2 separate regions of the Homo sapiens genome follow, and region 2 is linked to region 1. Evidence: promoter capture Hi-C in 16 types of primary human blood cells and fetal thymus (Javierre and others, 2016). All regions are on one chromosome and are shown on one strand. Each heading gives the region's core, a stretch centred on a gene start or on the middle of the fragment in contact. The rest is flanking DNA. Distances are from core to core; before and after follow the strand shown. Region 1 holds the start of CHD4 (chromodomain helicase DNA binding protein 4). Region 2 overlaps IFFO1 (intermediate filament family orphan 1).

Region 1 (6,815 bases), core at 2,601-5,100:
CCAGGAGCTAGCGGAAGACTTGTCTGCATCCCTGGTGCTCTGCTCAGGAGCAGGGGGATTGTAATTCCCTGAGGCAAGCTCTTGCCTTCCCTGAACTCATTTCTTTGTACCAGTTCTCCAGTCCCTTGGATCCTAGAGAAGGGGAGAGCCATCTGGCCAGGCCTTCCTCTAGGAAAATGAGATGAGAAGGGTAATGCAGAGATGGCATGAGGTTCATCCCACTCACTACTGGTTAGTAAAGGGCCCTTTCTACAAGGAAGTCCAAGTTTCTTTTCAACTCGTCCCACTTCCATAGGTCTTGGACCCATGCAAAAAAGGTACATGAGCAGAGGGAGACATTATCCTTGGCCTGGGGTTAGGGCAGCAAGGCAGTGGTGCTGGGACATTGGTTTTCACTCAGGTCCTGAATCTCTGGGAGTCAGGAAAAGGGAAAAGTGACAGGCTGATGGGTTAGGTTTTCTGAGGGCCAAAGGGTTTTAAGATTGGGCTCTTTCCTGGCCAGGCGCAGTGGCTCACGCCTGTAATCCCAGCACTTTGGGAGGCCGAGGCGGGCGGATCACCTGAGTTTGGGCGTTCGAGACCAGCCTGACCAATATGGAGAAACCCCGTCTCTACTAAAAATACAAAATTAGCCGGGCATGGTGGCACATGCCTGTAATCCCAGCTACCCGGGAGGCTGAGGCAGGAAAATCACTTGAACCTGGGAGGCTGAGGTTGCAGTGAGCCGAGATCGCGCCATGGCACTCCAGCCTGGGCAACAAGAGCGAAACTCCGTCTCAAAAAAAAAAAAAAAAAAAAAAATTAGGCTCTTTCCTGAGGTGGGAAGATCACTTGAGTCCAGAAGTTCAAGATCAGCCTGGCAACATAGTGAAACCCCGTCTCTACAATAAATTTAAAAATTAGCTGGGTGTGGTGGTGTATGCCCGTGGTTCCAGCTACAGGTGGGAGGCTGAGGTGGGATGATCACTTGAGCCCAGGAGGTTGAGGTTGCAGTGAGCTGTGATTGCGCCACTGAGACCCTGTCTCTCAAAAAAACAAAAAACAAAACAAAAAAAATTCGGTTATTTCAGCTTCTAGGATTGGGTCCATAGGGTGGCTGGAGGGTATGCATAATAAGGGAAGGAGATGGTATACGCTGGAGGGCTACCTTGGGGCATAATTCAATGTAGAAGGTTTCCTGGACTGCTGACTTCTTTTTTTTTTTTTTTTTTTCTGAGGCAGAGTCTTGCTCTGTTGCCCAGGCTGTAGTGCAGTGGTGCAATCTCAGCTCCCTGCAACCTCTACCTCCTGGGTTCAAGCAATTCTCCTGCCTCAGCCCTTGAGTAGCTAGGATTACAGGCACGTGCCACCATGTCAGGCTAATTTTTGTATGTTTAGTAGAGACGGGGTTTCACCATTTTGGCCAGGCTGGTCTTGAACTCCTGACCTTGTGATCCACCTGCCTTGGCCTCCCAAAGTGCTGGGATTACAGGCATGAGCCACCATGCCCCGCTGGAATATTGACTTCTATACAGGCAGGGGAAGATGGGGAACATTATACAACTAAAGATTTTTTTTTTTTTGAGGTGGAGAATGTGGCCCCAACAAGATGAGGATGGAGGCCATTGGAGATACTATGAGACTTCAGGATATAAAATGGGAAAGTGCCTGAAAAATATGGGACATTGAGGATAAGCAGGATTTGGTGTTCAAGAATGAGGGAAACAATGCTGGTATATTGTGGAGTCTCTTAAGAAGGAAGGACATGAACATATTATAGGATTTCAGTATTAGGAATGCTGGATGGATGAACATTGCTTTCCAAGAAAAATCCCCTAGTAAGTAGGGAACAGATAGGAGATCATGTTGACTATGGTCTATACCCATAAATCCTTTAAGTATCATCTTCCAGCCTCTAGAAGGACCACGATAAATCTTATTGGGATATGTTCTCTCTTGGAACCAGTGGGATTTTATTTTCTGTAACAGGAAATTGGGAAACAGTGCTCAGCAGTTCTCCCTTGGCACCATTCTGTCGTGTATCATAGTTTGCTTGGTTGCTTATGCTTTTTGAAGGGAGGCCCCCTGGTCTTCCTTGATTCTCCATGGTGCGGAGCTCGGCCTTGCTAGGTACTCTGTCAACACAGGTTGAATGAACATGAGTAGTGGTGAGTAGCGGGAGGGCAGGCCTTCACTCTTGGTGTGTATAGAGCAGGAACCTGAGTTCACATCGTGATGGGATGTCCATCCCCAGGAATGGCCTGGGGGTGTTGGTGAAAGATCCCTGACCTGGGGATGTGGTGAGGGGGAGGATTGCTAGAATGTTGAGAGATAGTCTTTGGATGGGAGTTGGTAATTATTATGGGATGCTGTAGGGTGAATTAGACTTCATGTAAATGTTTCATCTGTCAGCTTGGTATTTTGGTTGGTTGGTGTTCCTCAAAACTTAGGAGCTGGAGGTAAGCATCTGGAAAATACCTAGATTTTGGTGGGACTGGGTGGGGCCCTAGGTGGGCTCCCAGCCCCCGAGTGTCTGGAAATGATGGTATGAGGGAAGCTGGGGTCCCAGACATCAGGAGGCTTTTTGCCAGGATACTACTTTGGCCCAGAAAGGGATTAAGGTGTGTGCAAGTGGGGGCGGGGACAAGGAAGCGTGGGTAGCCTGCCTGGCCCTCCCTGCTCTGGGTGTTAGAATAGACTGACAGCGCCTGGAGATGGGGGTGGGAAGAATATGAATATTATGGGATGCCTGGCTCGAAGGGTATAGGGGTGGTAGAGTGGAGATGAAGCATTATGGGATGTGACACTGGGTTGTGTTGGGAGTATTATGGTATGTTTGGTTGACCACGGGCTCCTTGCAATTATTATGGGATGTCAGGATGTGGGTAGGAGAGTAAAATTATTATGGGATAGCTTTCCAGTGTTAGAGGAAAAGAGATTAGATGTCCATCTGTGGGGCGACAGTAGGGCTGTTGATCATTATGGGTTATCTTTTTGATAGAGGAGGGGTACTTACTATAGGCTGTGGAGCTAGAAGAGGGAAGGCTGGGGGTGATGTGAGCCTCTAGACCCTGGCCTGCAGGGACTGAGGGCAGCTCTAGGGGGTTAGTTATTATGGGATGTCAGTATAGAAAGTGGGAGACTGATTATTACGGGATGTGTGTGGGAGGAGGCCGAGTGTCCGTTGTTGTAGTATGGGGGGGGGTGAGTTTCTGACTATTATGGGATATCAAACTGGGGGTGGATGAAGGATGGTTATTATGGGATGTCTGTGGGGGATGGGGCTGAATATTATGGGATATGAGGCATAAGTGCTGCGAGGGGTGCTTATTATGGGATGGCCATGGGGAGGGAGGGGTGATGAATTATTATGGGATGTTAGCATTAGGTCCAAGAGTGAAGAAGAAGTTGGCAAAGGATGTCTATTATGGGATGTCTAAGAGGGTTAGTTGCAAAAGGTCTGCAATATTTTGAGATGTCAGCAGTCTCTGGCATATGTGTATGAAATGTGGGGGGGCAGGGTGTGTGTGTGTTGTGTGTGTGTGTGTGTGTGTGTGTGTGTGTGTGTGTGTGTGTGTTGGGGGGGGGGGTGTCCGTGTGTATTATGGGATGGCCAGGAGGTGGGCGGTTGCCCAGGTGACGCGCGCGCGCCCGCTGCGAAGGGGGCGTGGCCAGTGGTTGCCTGAGCGACGAGGGGGCGGGGGTTGCCCGGGAGACCTGGGGAGGAGGGTGGCGGTAGTGGAAGGGGGGGGTTGGAGTTGGTTGAGGTTATTATGGGCTGTCCGTGGGGGGGCGGGGCCTGTGCGGTGGGATTTCCCGGCCGGTGTTTCAGGCCCTTTAAGAGGCGACGCTGGAGCCGGAGCCATTTTCCCCCCTTCGGCCGCGGCGAGGAGGAGCCGGAGCGGGAGTGACACCGAGCCGGACCCAGCGCGACCTGCGGCGGCTCCGGGGTGAGGAGAGCGCGGGGTTCCCAAAGAGACGCCCCTCACGGCCCTACCAGCCCCGAGGGTCATCCCGTCACCCGCCCCTTCCTCAGGCGTCTCCGGACCCGCGGACCGCCCCTTGCCCAGAGGAGCCGACCCTTCCTTTCCTGGCCCTGCAGGGCGCCCGGCCTCCTCCCCAGCCCCCGCCCTAACCCTGCCGGAGTCTTGCTCCCCGCGACCCCCCGCCTCCGGCTTGGTCTCCCACAATGCCCGGCGCCCACCCCCTCGCCCTTTGATCACTTGCCCCCCGGGACACGTGGCCCGGCCCCCTTCCCGGTGGGACGCTTTCGCCCCCCGCGTCCCTGCCTCCGGCCCCCCGCAGCGCCCGAGCCTCCACGCCCCCTCGTCCCCGCAGCTCTTGAGGAGAACCTGAGTTGTCCCAGAGGACAGCCTTTGGAGAGCTGCCCTGTCTGGGGACTGGCCCCTCCCCGGGCGCAGGGAGGCGCCCCCCCACCCCCAAGTGACCTTGTGTCCCCGAGCGCCTCGCCGCCTGCGGCCTCCCCTGGCCCCCCCGCGCCGCTGCCACTCGGACCCCCTCCCCCGTCACACCCCGCTCGGTCCAGCCCCGCGTCTCCCCTCCCCGCGCTTGCACCAGCCTGCCCTCGGAGGCGTCGCTCCCTCGCTCCGTGGGGGCGCCTGCCGGGGAGCCGGCTTCCGGGCTGCCCCCGAGGAGTGTGGAACTAAGTTCAGCCTGAGCGGTTCGGGTGCCCTGCTAGGGTGGCTGGGGTGGGGGGCGGAAAGAGCGGGTGGGTGTGGGGGAGGGGGACAGTGCGCGTCACTGACTGTTCTGTGTTTCTCCCCCCTCCCCCGCACAGTGACTCGGGCCAGTGTAGAGGTCCTCAGGCCGCCGGCAGGAGCAGCTGGGCCAATTCCCTGGCCGGGAGCGGAAGGGGATGGCGTCGGGCCTGGGCTCCCCGTCCCCCTGCTCGGCGGGCAGTGAGGAGGAGGATATGGATGCACTTTTGAACAACAGCCTGCCCCCACCCCACCCAGGTAACATCTTCCCCAAGGGCCCATGGCGGGAAGGAGACATCTGGGGCTCTCCCGAGTGACTCCTCTGGTGAGGCAGGGCTGTGTTGCTCCGCTGTCTCTGTGCAGAGCCGGAGGTGGAGGGTATCCGAAGGGAGTGGTTCCCTTCTGCGGAGCTCTGGTGTGAGGGGGGTGGAAGCCATGTGCCTCCTGGGCACGGAGATGCCAGCTTGCTGCACTCTGTCTTGAGGAATGCTCTGCAGTTCCCAGTTGAGGGAGCTCTCTGGGCTGGCAGGCATTACCTGGTATGTGGGTCCTCGGAGGAATGCAGGTAGCTGGGACCCCTGGAGGCTTGTGGTGGTGGTGGTGGAGGGGGGCGTTGAGGATTCTGTTTGAAAGACCAGCCGGGCATCTGTGCTAGTAGGATCCTGTGGTTGCTGCTGTGGAAAGGAAAGAGGGAGTGCTGGTTACACTCTATCTGATTATTTTTAGCTTCTGATCGGTTACCGGTTTTCTGTGCTGTCTGAACTGTGTGAAGTTTGAATCGCGCTCCTCAGCAGGATCTGGAGTGCTTAAAGCAGCCAGGCAGATTGCTGGAATGTTTTGAGTGGGGAAGTGATGGGGGCTCGGGGAGGATGTAATAGCCTAGTGAAGAGGGGCAAAAGAAGGGAGGGCACTCCTCCTCCTGGTGAGTGGACATAGTTTTGGCTTTTTTCCTAGTGGCTTCTGTCTCTATGAGGTAGCCTGCGGTTTAGGCTGGCAGTGTGAAGTGTCTGTGTAGGTGTGCTAGGGGTTACGCTATCTGTGTTTTGGGGTGGCTTCATGAACTGGCCAAACCCGTATGGTTGTAACCACCCTGTCTGATTGGGGGAACTGTTGTCTATCCTCAAATGATGGTTGATGTCATGCCCCTAAGCAGATGTCTTTCTCTTCTGTGTCCTTTTTCAGAGCCCCTAGCTGTGTCACCTACTCATCTCCTTGACCTTCATGTTTTCTAGTTTAATTTTTTTTTCTACATGTCATTTCTTCATTCCTTCTGCTTCTAGTTTTCTTCTCATTCTGGAGCCTGCTGATCCTGTTTTTGTTTCTCATCCAGCATCATTCACTTCTGCCTTCTCTCTTCTTAGCTTCAGTGGAAGTTGAGGTGGTCTGGGAGAGATGCTTTCACATTTGGCACTTTTTAAGTTGGAATTCTTCACTTCAACCTGAGGCCATTTAGGAGAGGGGTTAGTGTTGTCATGGAGTCTGGGCTGTTGGGATGAGAAACTTGGTTTCATCCTTGTGTAGAGTAGGGGGCAGATTTCCATGCCCTTGCCCAAGGTGAGGGCGGAGTTGTGGTGCTGGTAAGGGGACCCTGTCCTTCTGAGAGGGGCATGAGAAACAGTAGTGCTGCCTAAACATTCTGGGTTCCACGTCTTGGCCTCCCATTGGCCACTTGGGCTGGGGCTGCCTTTCATGTTGACCGGGAGCTGCGCAGGAGCTGTGAACTCTGTCCTGAGCTGTAGCATGACCCACTTTTTCCACTTGCCACACCCCATTCCTGTCCCTTTCCTAAATCTTCTCTATATCTCAGTAAGTTTGCGGTTTGCCATTTCAGCATATTATTTGCCTGAGAAGTTTGGGGGGCTCCATGTGCATGGAAGGATGTCCCCTTTGCCTCCATGGGTTGTCTTTGTCTCCACTTCCAGCTTTTATGGGGGTGGTGAGATGTAGCTGATGGGGGTTGGGGGTTGACTTGGGGATTGGTGGGGAAAAGTCCTTAAGAAAATGATTCTTTCTGGTGAAATCCAGGCTGATGTTGCATTCCCAAGGGGGAATGGGAGGGGCGTTCTTGTGCCTGGTCTTATTCTGGGCTGAGAAGCAGGGAGGCTGATGGTGCTTTGT
Region 2 (6,815 bases), core at 1,177-3,676, 58 kb after region 1:
CACCGGGCCCCTTTACATACTCTACTTTCTCTTTCCCTCTGGGTTTGAGTGCTAGTAACCCCAGGCTCGTGTGTCCACTGCTGTCATGCTGCTGTGGGACTTCCGGCCTCTGAGCCAGTCTGGTCACCTCTCTGTGACTCCCTTAGAGGAGGCTCTGGGTGGGTAGTTTCTGGAGCTAGTGGGGAAGGACTTTGAGTGTCTCCTACCAGGCTCTTGACCCACTCTGTTGATACACTATGTGTCCTGCAGATGCTTTTACAGGGTTAAATGATACCACAAGAGGCAGGGCAGCGGGCTCGACGAGCTCTGTTCTGGTGCGGGCAGGAGGCGGGAGCCCGGATCTGTGCGACTGAAGGTGGGAGACTGGGCCGGGTGGACCTGGTGGTCTGGTGTGGGCAGGAGGTGGGCAATGAGGCCAGCCGGACAGCTGGCTGAGCTGGGGCCTGAGCAGGGATGGGCATCACGGAGGACCGGAGCCTCAGCACTTGCCCAAACAGAGCTCCTGGTGCACAGCCCGGAGGTTCCGGGAAGGCAGCTGGCGAGCTCGACGCCCATCAGGAAGCACAGAGCCGCGTGACAGCTGCAGTTGGTCACCAGCTGGCTGGCCAGGCATTCCTGTGCCCTGCTCCTCCCCATCCAGGGAACCAGAACTGGGGTCTGAGGCCTGAGCCAGAGAGGTGGGGACAGGGAGCCATGGGGGCAGGGAAGGACTCTGTACCTAAGCTCTCTCCGCCCTTCCCATGTCTGTCAGGTGGGAAGAGGAGTACACGGTGCGGATCCAGCTGCAAGACCGTGTAAATGAGCTCCAGGAGGTGAGGGTGGCGCCCCACTTGCTGCTGGTGCTTCCCTGGGTACCCCTGTCTGCCCATGACCCTGCTGCCGTCTCCCTGTCCCTCCTTGGCATCTTTATCTTCCTCCCACCTCGGCAGTGCCACCAACATCAGGGTTTCTCCCAACTGCAGGAAGCCCAGGAGGCTGATGCCTGCCAGGAGGAGCTGGCACTGAAGGTGGAACAGTTGAAGGCTGAGCTGGTGGTCTTCAAGGGGCTCATGAGTAACGTGAGTGCAGCCCCAGGCTTCCCGAGGGTCGAAGTGAGGCTTCTGAGGCCAGAAGAGTAGGCCCTTCTAGTGTTGGCCTGTTGGCCTCCCGTCCACGGCTCCTCCCCTTCTCTTTGCTTTCCTTCCCTTTTTCCCCTAGCCACCCCTAACTCCAGAGAAAGACAAGCAACAAAAGTCTCGGTGTTGCGTCACAGAGGTGGCGCAGCTTCTGAGGGCCTGGGGTTGCAGAGCAGTTAGTGAGCAGCTTCTGGGGTGGAGGCTCTGCAGCTGGCGCCGGGGCGCTGGGCCGATTCCTCAGCCTCTGAGGCCTCACCTTTGGCGTGGGGAAATAAACGCGTGCGCTCTGCAGGAGTATTGTGAGGGTGGTCATGTACTCGGGACAGTGCCCAGCATGCAGTGTTAGCTGGAAGAGTGTTAGCTGTTGCGATTATTATAGTCCTTTCTCCACTCTTATAATTCCCAGGAGTCTCTTTCTCTCTGGGAATGTAAGTTCTAGGAGGATGAGGACCGCTAGTCGTTCCAGTGAGCCCCCTGCATGTCCCAGGCACTGGCCATGCCCTCCAGGGCTTCCGTTTGGCCAGGGAGCAGTGGCCCGAGCCGCCCCATGCCCAGCATATTCACACAGTGCTGTGGGGAGGCCACCGCTACCCAGGAAGAGGGGTGCAGTCAGCTCAGGGAGACTCCACAGAAGAGGCACCGGTGCAATGTGGTGGGAAGGATGAGGACCTTGCCAGGCCTAATTCGTCCTTGTCTGGAGAACTGGGCGCCTCCTCACTGTTCCCTGGGCTCCCTGGACAGAACCTGTCGGAGCTGGACACCAAGATCCAGGAGAAAGCCATGAAGGTGGATATGGACATCTGCCGCCGCATCGACATCACCGCCAAGCTCTGCGATGTGGCTCAGCAGCGCAACTGCGAGGACATGATCCAGATGTTCCAGGTGAGGACGGAGCTGCCCTCTGCTCTCAGGGGTGGGTGGGGCAGGTGGATGCTTCCGTGGCGGCTGGCCTGGAACGCAGGCCCTGCCTCCTGCTTGGGGAGCCTTACCTGGCAACTGGGGCCCTCACGGGGCTAGACTGGGGGGTAAGGAGCAGCATCAGGAGGGGCATCGTGGAAGCTGTCTCTAACGCCGTCTCTCCCTTCCCCCTCTCTCTCCTCTGTCTGCTTCCTCTCCTCTCTTCCTCTCATCTTCTCTCTTGCTTCCTCCACAGAAGAAGCTGGTTAGTTTGATCTCACGCAAGCTTATTAATGTCCCAGTCCCAGTTTCTAAGCTGCCTAGGCCTCCTGGCCCTCAGTTTGGGCCCGCTGGGCTCTTGAGCACGGATTTTTTTCTGCCCTTTCCCTTTTCCTTGCTCTTCCCCCTTTTTCTCTCTATCTCTTGTTCTCTTGACTGCATTTCTTTCTCTCCCTTCTCCCCCGGCTTTCCAGATCTGGATGTGATTCAGGTTCTCTTTTGTACACATTGCACACTCATCCTCCTTGCGTCCTAAAGCTTTTTTTTTTTTAGTTGAGTCATTTAATCAAAAAGACTTTTTTTAGAAAAAAATTTCCTCTTGAGCCATCATGCACATCTGACTGCAGCCCCAGCGAGCCCTTCCTTCCTTGTCTGACTGCTCTTCTTCTCGATTTCTTCTTGTTCTGCCTTCTCGGTTTGCAGCCCTGACCCCCGCTGTGTGTCTGGCCCTTGGTGACTGTCCGTGTTTCTGTTCCTGTCATTGTAACTGTGACTTTTCTCTCTGTCTGCCCCCCCTTCCTACTGGTTCATGCTTCTCCCCCATTCCCACCCTCTCTGCCCGGCCTCCCGCTCCCGCCCTTTCTCCTCATGCACCCGGCCTCGTCTCTGTAGTCTCTGCACTTGTCTCCCATTAAGGTCCCATCCATGGGGGGGCGGAAGCGGGAGCGCAAGGCTGCCGTCGAGGAGGACACCTCCCTGTCGGAGAGTGAGGGGCCCCGCCAGCCCGATGGGGATGAGGAGGAGAGCACAGCCCTCAGCATCAACGAGGAGATGCAGCGCATGCTCAACCAGCTGTGAGTCCGCAGGCCGTGCTCCCGCAGCACCGACGCCACAGCAGCCCAGGAGGCCGGAGCTCCCCAGTCCCCCGCCAGGACGAGGCCCCGCCCGCCCTGACACCCGGGTTCCCTGTCTCTAGGAGGGAGTATGATTTTGAGGACGACTGTGACAGCCTGACTTGGGAGGAGACTGAGGAGACCCTGCTGCTTTGGGAGGATTTCTCAGGCTATGCCATGGCAGCTGCAGAGGCCCAGGGAGAGGTAACCTCTGCTCCCGGCCTCAGGGCCCTCTGGCTCTGCCTCTCCAGCCTGAAGCCCACTCCCCCGCTCCTCTCCTTGCTCTGTCCCCCCATGTGGCTGTCATCCTCTACCTGCGTCTCCCCTCTTCCTTTATCCTTTTGCTTTTCTTTCTCCAGTTTCTTTAACCAGACTTCCTCTCTCTCTCTCTCCCTGACTTGGCCCTTTGGAATGCGTCCCATCCCATCCCTCCTTGGCTGGCCTCCCCCGCTTCCCTTTCTACTCCAGCAGCAGGAAGATAGCCTGGAGAAGGTGATTAAAGATACGGAGTCCCTGTTCAAAACCCGGGAGAAGGAGTATCAGGAGACCATTGACCAGATAGAGGTAAGGGCAGGAGCGGAAGCCAGGGGCGTGGTGTCCCAGAGGGTTTTGAGTGGGGCTGCAGGCGCAGTGGCCTCATCCCTGCTGCAGGACCCTAGAGACCAAGGTCTTGGGAGGAGGAGTGATCTCTCAGCTATAGTCCTCCTGGTGGGCTCTGAAGACCTCAGGCTCTGGAAACAGACAGATATCGGTTCAAATCTCAGCTCTGTTACTTACAACCACCCTGAACTTGTAATAAGTTACTTGTTCCCTCTGAGCCCCTCCTTTCCTTTCCTTTCCTTTCCTTTCTTTCCTTCCTTCCTTCCTTCCTTTCTCTCTCTCTCTCTCTTCCCCTCCCCCTCTATCCCTCCCTCCCTCTCTCCCTTGTCTTTCTGTCCTTTCTTTTTTGAGACAAGGTCTCACTCTGTTTCACTCTGTTGCCTAGGCTGGAGTGATCCTCCCACCCCAGCCTTCTGAGTAGCTGGGCCCACAGGTGTGTGCCACCATACCCAGCTAATTTTTATTTGTATTTTTTTGTAGAGATGGTGTCTCCCTGTGTTTCCCAGGCAGGTCTTAAACTCTTGGGCTTAAGTGATCCTCCTGCCTCGGCCTCCCAAAGTACTAGAATTAGAGACATGAGCCATGTGTCCAGCCCTACACCTGTTTCTTTTTCTTTCTTTCTTTCTTTCTTTCTTTTTTTGAGACAGGGTCTTGCTCTGTCACTCCAGGCCCACTGCAGCCGTGATCTTCTGGATCCAAGCAATCCTCCTACCTCAGCCTCCCAAGTAGCTGGGACCACAGGCGTGTGCTACCACGCCCGGCTAATTTTTTGATTTTTTTTACAGAGAACAGGGTGTCACTATGTTTTCCAGGCTGCCCTCAAACTTCTGGATTCAAGCAGTCCTCCTAACTCGGCCCCACAAAGTGTTGGGATTACAGGCATGAGCCACTGTGCCGGGCCTTTTTATTTGTAAAATGAGGAATTTAATAATACCTCACCTATAGGGTTGTTTAGAAGATCAGATGAAATAATGCATATATAGAGCTTAGGGCAGTGTCTGGCTCATAGCGAGTGTAGCATAGTGGGGACTGTTTTATTATTATTAACACTATCAGTGCCATGGCACTCAGAGATGGACTGGGACTTTCCTGTTTCTTCCACTCAGCCTTTGAGATAACAGAGAAATCTCCATGCTTTTTCCCAAGCCTTGAAGTACCTTCTAGAGGTACCTAGAGGCAAGTGGAGCTGGTGCTTTAGCTCAAACTCTAGGCTTTAGGAGCTGCAAGAAGGATTTGTGGAGGCCGGGCGCGGTGGCTCACGCCTGTAATCCCAGCACTTTGGGAGGCCGAGGCGGGAAGATCACGAGGTCAGGAGATCGAGACCATCCTGGCTAACACGGTGAAACCCCGTCTCTACGAAAAATACAAAAAAAAAAAATTAGCTGGCCGTGGTGGCAGGCACCTGTAGTCCCAGCTACTCGGGAGGCTGAGGCAGGAGAATGGCGTGAACCCGGGAGGCGGAGCTTGCAGTGAGCCGAGATCGCACCACTGCACTCCAGCCTGGGCGACAGAGCAAGACTCCGTCTCAAAAATACAAACAAAGGAAGAAGGATTTGTGGAACCACAGAATGGAGGTTGCTGTTGCTGTGGGAGGAGGGATGGACGGGACCCCCGTGAGCTCTCCTGGCCTGGTGAGGTGGTCCTTTCCCGACGCTCTGACTTTGGGAGAGGCATGGAGCCTTCTCTGCGTCTCAGCCTCTCTTCAGGCCCACATGGGAGATTCATACGTAGTCCCCCCTTATCTTCAGGGCATGTGTTCCAAGACCCACAGTGGATGCCTGAAACCAAAGATAGCACTGACCTCCTGATAGCTTGGGTCCAGTTGCTGTCAACTGGAACGTGTTTCTGTTCATGTCTCCCACCCACACATTCAATGCCTTTTCTATCTTAACTAAGCACTTAGCGTGCGCTGTGGCGGTACCTTTTGCAGTTCGAGGTGTGACAGCAAAACTGGCACAAATTTCTTTTTCCTTCTTTACAATTTCACGGATAGAAGATTCATTCTTACTGTAGAGCTTACCAACCTCAGCATCGGATTCTTTTTCTTATTAAGTTGAAAACTTTTACCTTTTCACTTAAAGGGAGCATATTTTGGCTTCTCTTTCACATATCCAAATTGCCAGCATCACTACTCTTGTGCTTTGGGGCCATTATGAAGTAAAAATAAGGGTTCCTTGAACACGGGCACTGCCATACCACGACAGTCAATCTCATCACTGAGATGGCTCCTAAGTAACTAATGGGCAGGCAGTATAGACAGTGTGGATCCTTGGGACAGAGGGAGGGTTCATGTCCTGGTCTGGATAGAGTGAGGTTTTTTTTTTTTTTTCCGAGACGGAGTCTCGCTGTGTCACCCAGGCTGGAGTGCAGTGGCTTGAACTCGGCTCACTGCAAGCTCCACCTCCTGGGTTCACGCCATTCTCCTGCCTCAGCCTCCTGAGTAGCTGGGACTACAGGCGCCCGCCATCACGCCCGGCTAATTTCTTTTGTATTTTTTAGTAGAGATGGGGTTTCACCGTGTTAGCCAGGATGATCTCGATCTCCTGACCTCATGATCCGCCCACCTCGGCCTCCCAAAGTGCTGGGATTATAGGCGTGAGCCACCGCGCCCGGCAGAGAGAGTGAGATTTTATCAGGCCACTCAGAACAGCGTGCAATTTAAAACTTAGGAATTGTTTATTTCTGGAATATTTCATTTAATATTTTCAGATCAAGGTTCACCTTGGGTACCTGAAGCCGTGGAAAGTGAAACCAGTGGATAAGGAGAGAGTGACTTTATTCTTTTCATTTATTTATTTATTTATTTATTTTTTTGAGACGTAGTCTCGCTGTGTCGCCCAGGCTGGAGTGCAGTGGCGCGATCTCAGCTCACTGCAAGCTCCACCTCCCAGGTTCACGCCATTCTCCTGCCTCAGCCTCCAGAGTAGCTGGGACTACAGGCGCCTGCCACTACGCCCGGCTAATTTTTTGTATTTTTTAGTAGAGACGGGGTTTCACCATGTTAGCCAGGATGGTCTCGATCTCCTGACCTCGTGATCCACCCGCCTCGGCCTTCCAAAGTGCTGGGATTACAGGCGTGAGCCACCGCGCC

What was found. The method cuts DNA at HindIII sites, captures the fragments that hold promoters and counts their contacts. A CHiCAGO score of 5 or more calls a contact.
Region 2: a contact is called between a fragment that was not itself captured here and the fragment with the promoter of CHD4 in region 1, in 3 of 17 cell types (activated CD4 T cells, naive CD4 T cells and total CD8 T cells). The highest score is 6.6, in activated CD4 T cells.

The regions. Positions count from the first base shown.
Region 1 is chr12:6,604,414-6,611,228 of GRCh38, reverse strand. CHD4 (chromodomain helicase DNA binding protein 4) reads left to right here and starts at 3,850. Exons shown (of 40, transcript NM_001273.5): 1 at 3,850-3,929; 2 at 4,778-4,955. The coding sequence starts at 4,856. LOC124902867 (a long non-coding RNA gene) reads right to left here and starts at 5,343. Exons shown (of 2, transcript XR_007063193.1): 1 at 5,234-5,343; 2 at 1,919-2,114. RefSeq lists enhancers at 3,230-3,379, 5,120-5,279 and silencers at 3,970-4,069, 4,480-4,539, 4,720-4,769. The HindIII fragment of the contact is 30,599 bases long and covers 1-6,815 here.
Region 2 is chr12:6,544,938-6,551,752 of GRCh38, reverse strand. IFFO1 (intermediate filament family orphan 1) reads left to right here. Exons shown (of 10, transcript NM_001193457.2): 2 at 752-812; 3 at 963-1,058; 4 at 1,857-1,997; 5 at 2,269-2,277; 6 at 2,904-3,085; 7 at 3,208-3,328; 8 at 3,593-3,688. Among named protein-coding and RNA genes, the nearest start is that of IFFO1, 7.7 kb to the left of the region's middle. RefSeq lists enhancers at 157-656, 1,336-1,836, 1,837-2,337. The HindIII fragment of the contact is 251 bases long and covers 2,301-2,551 here.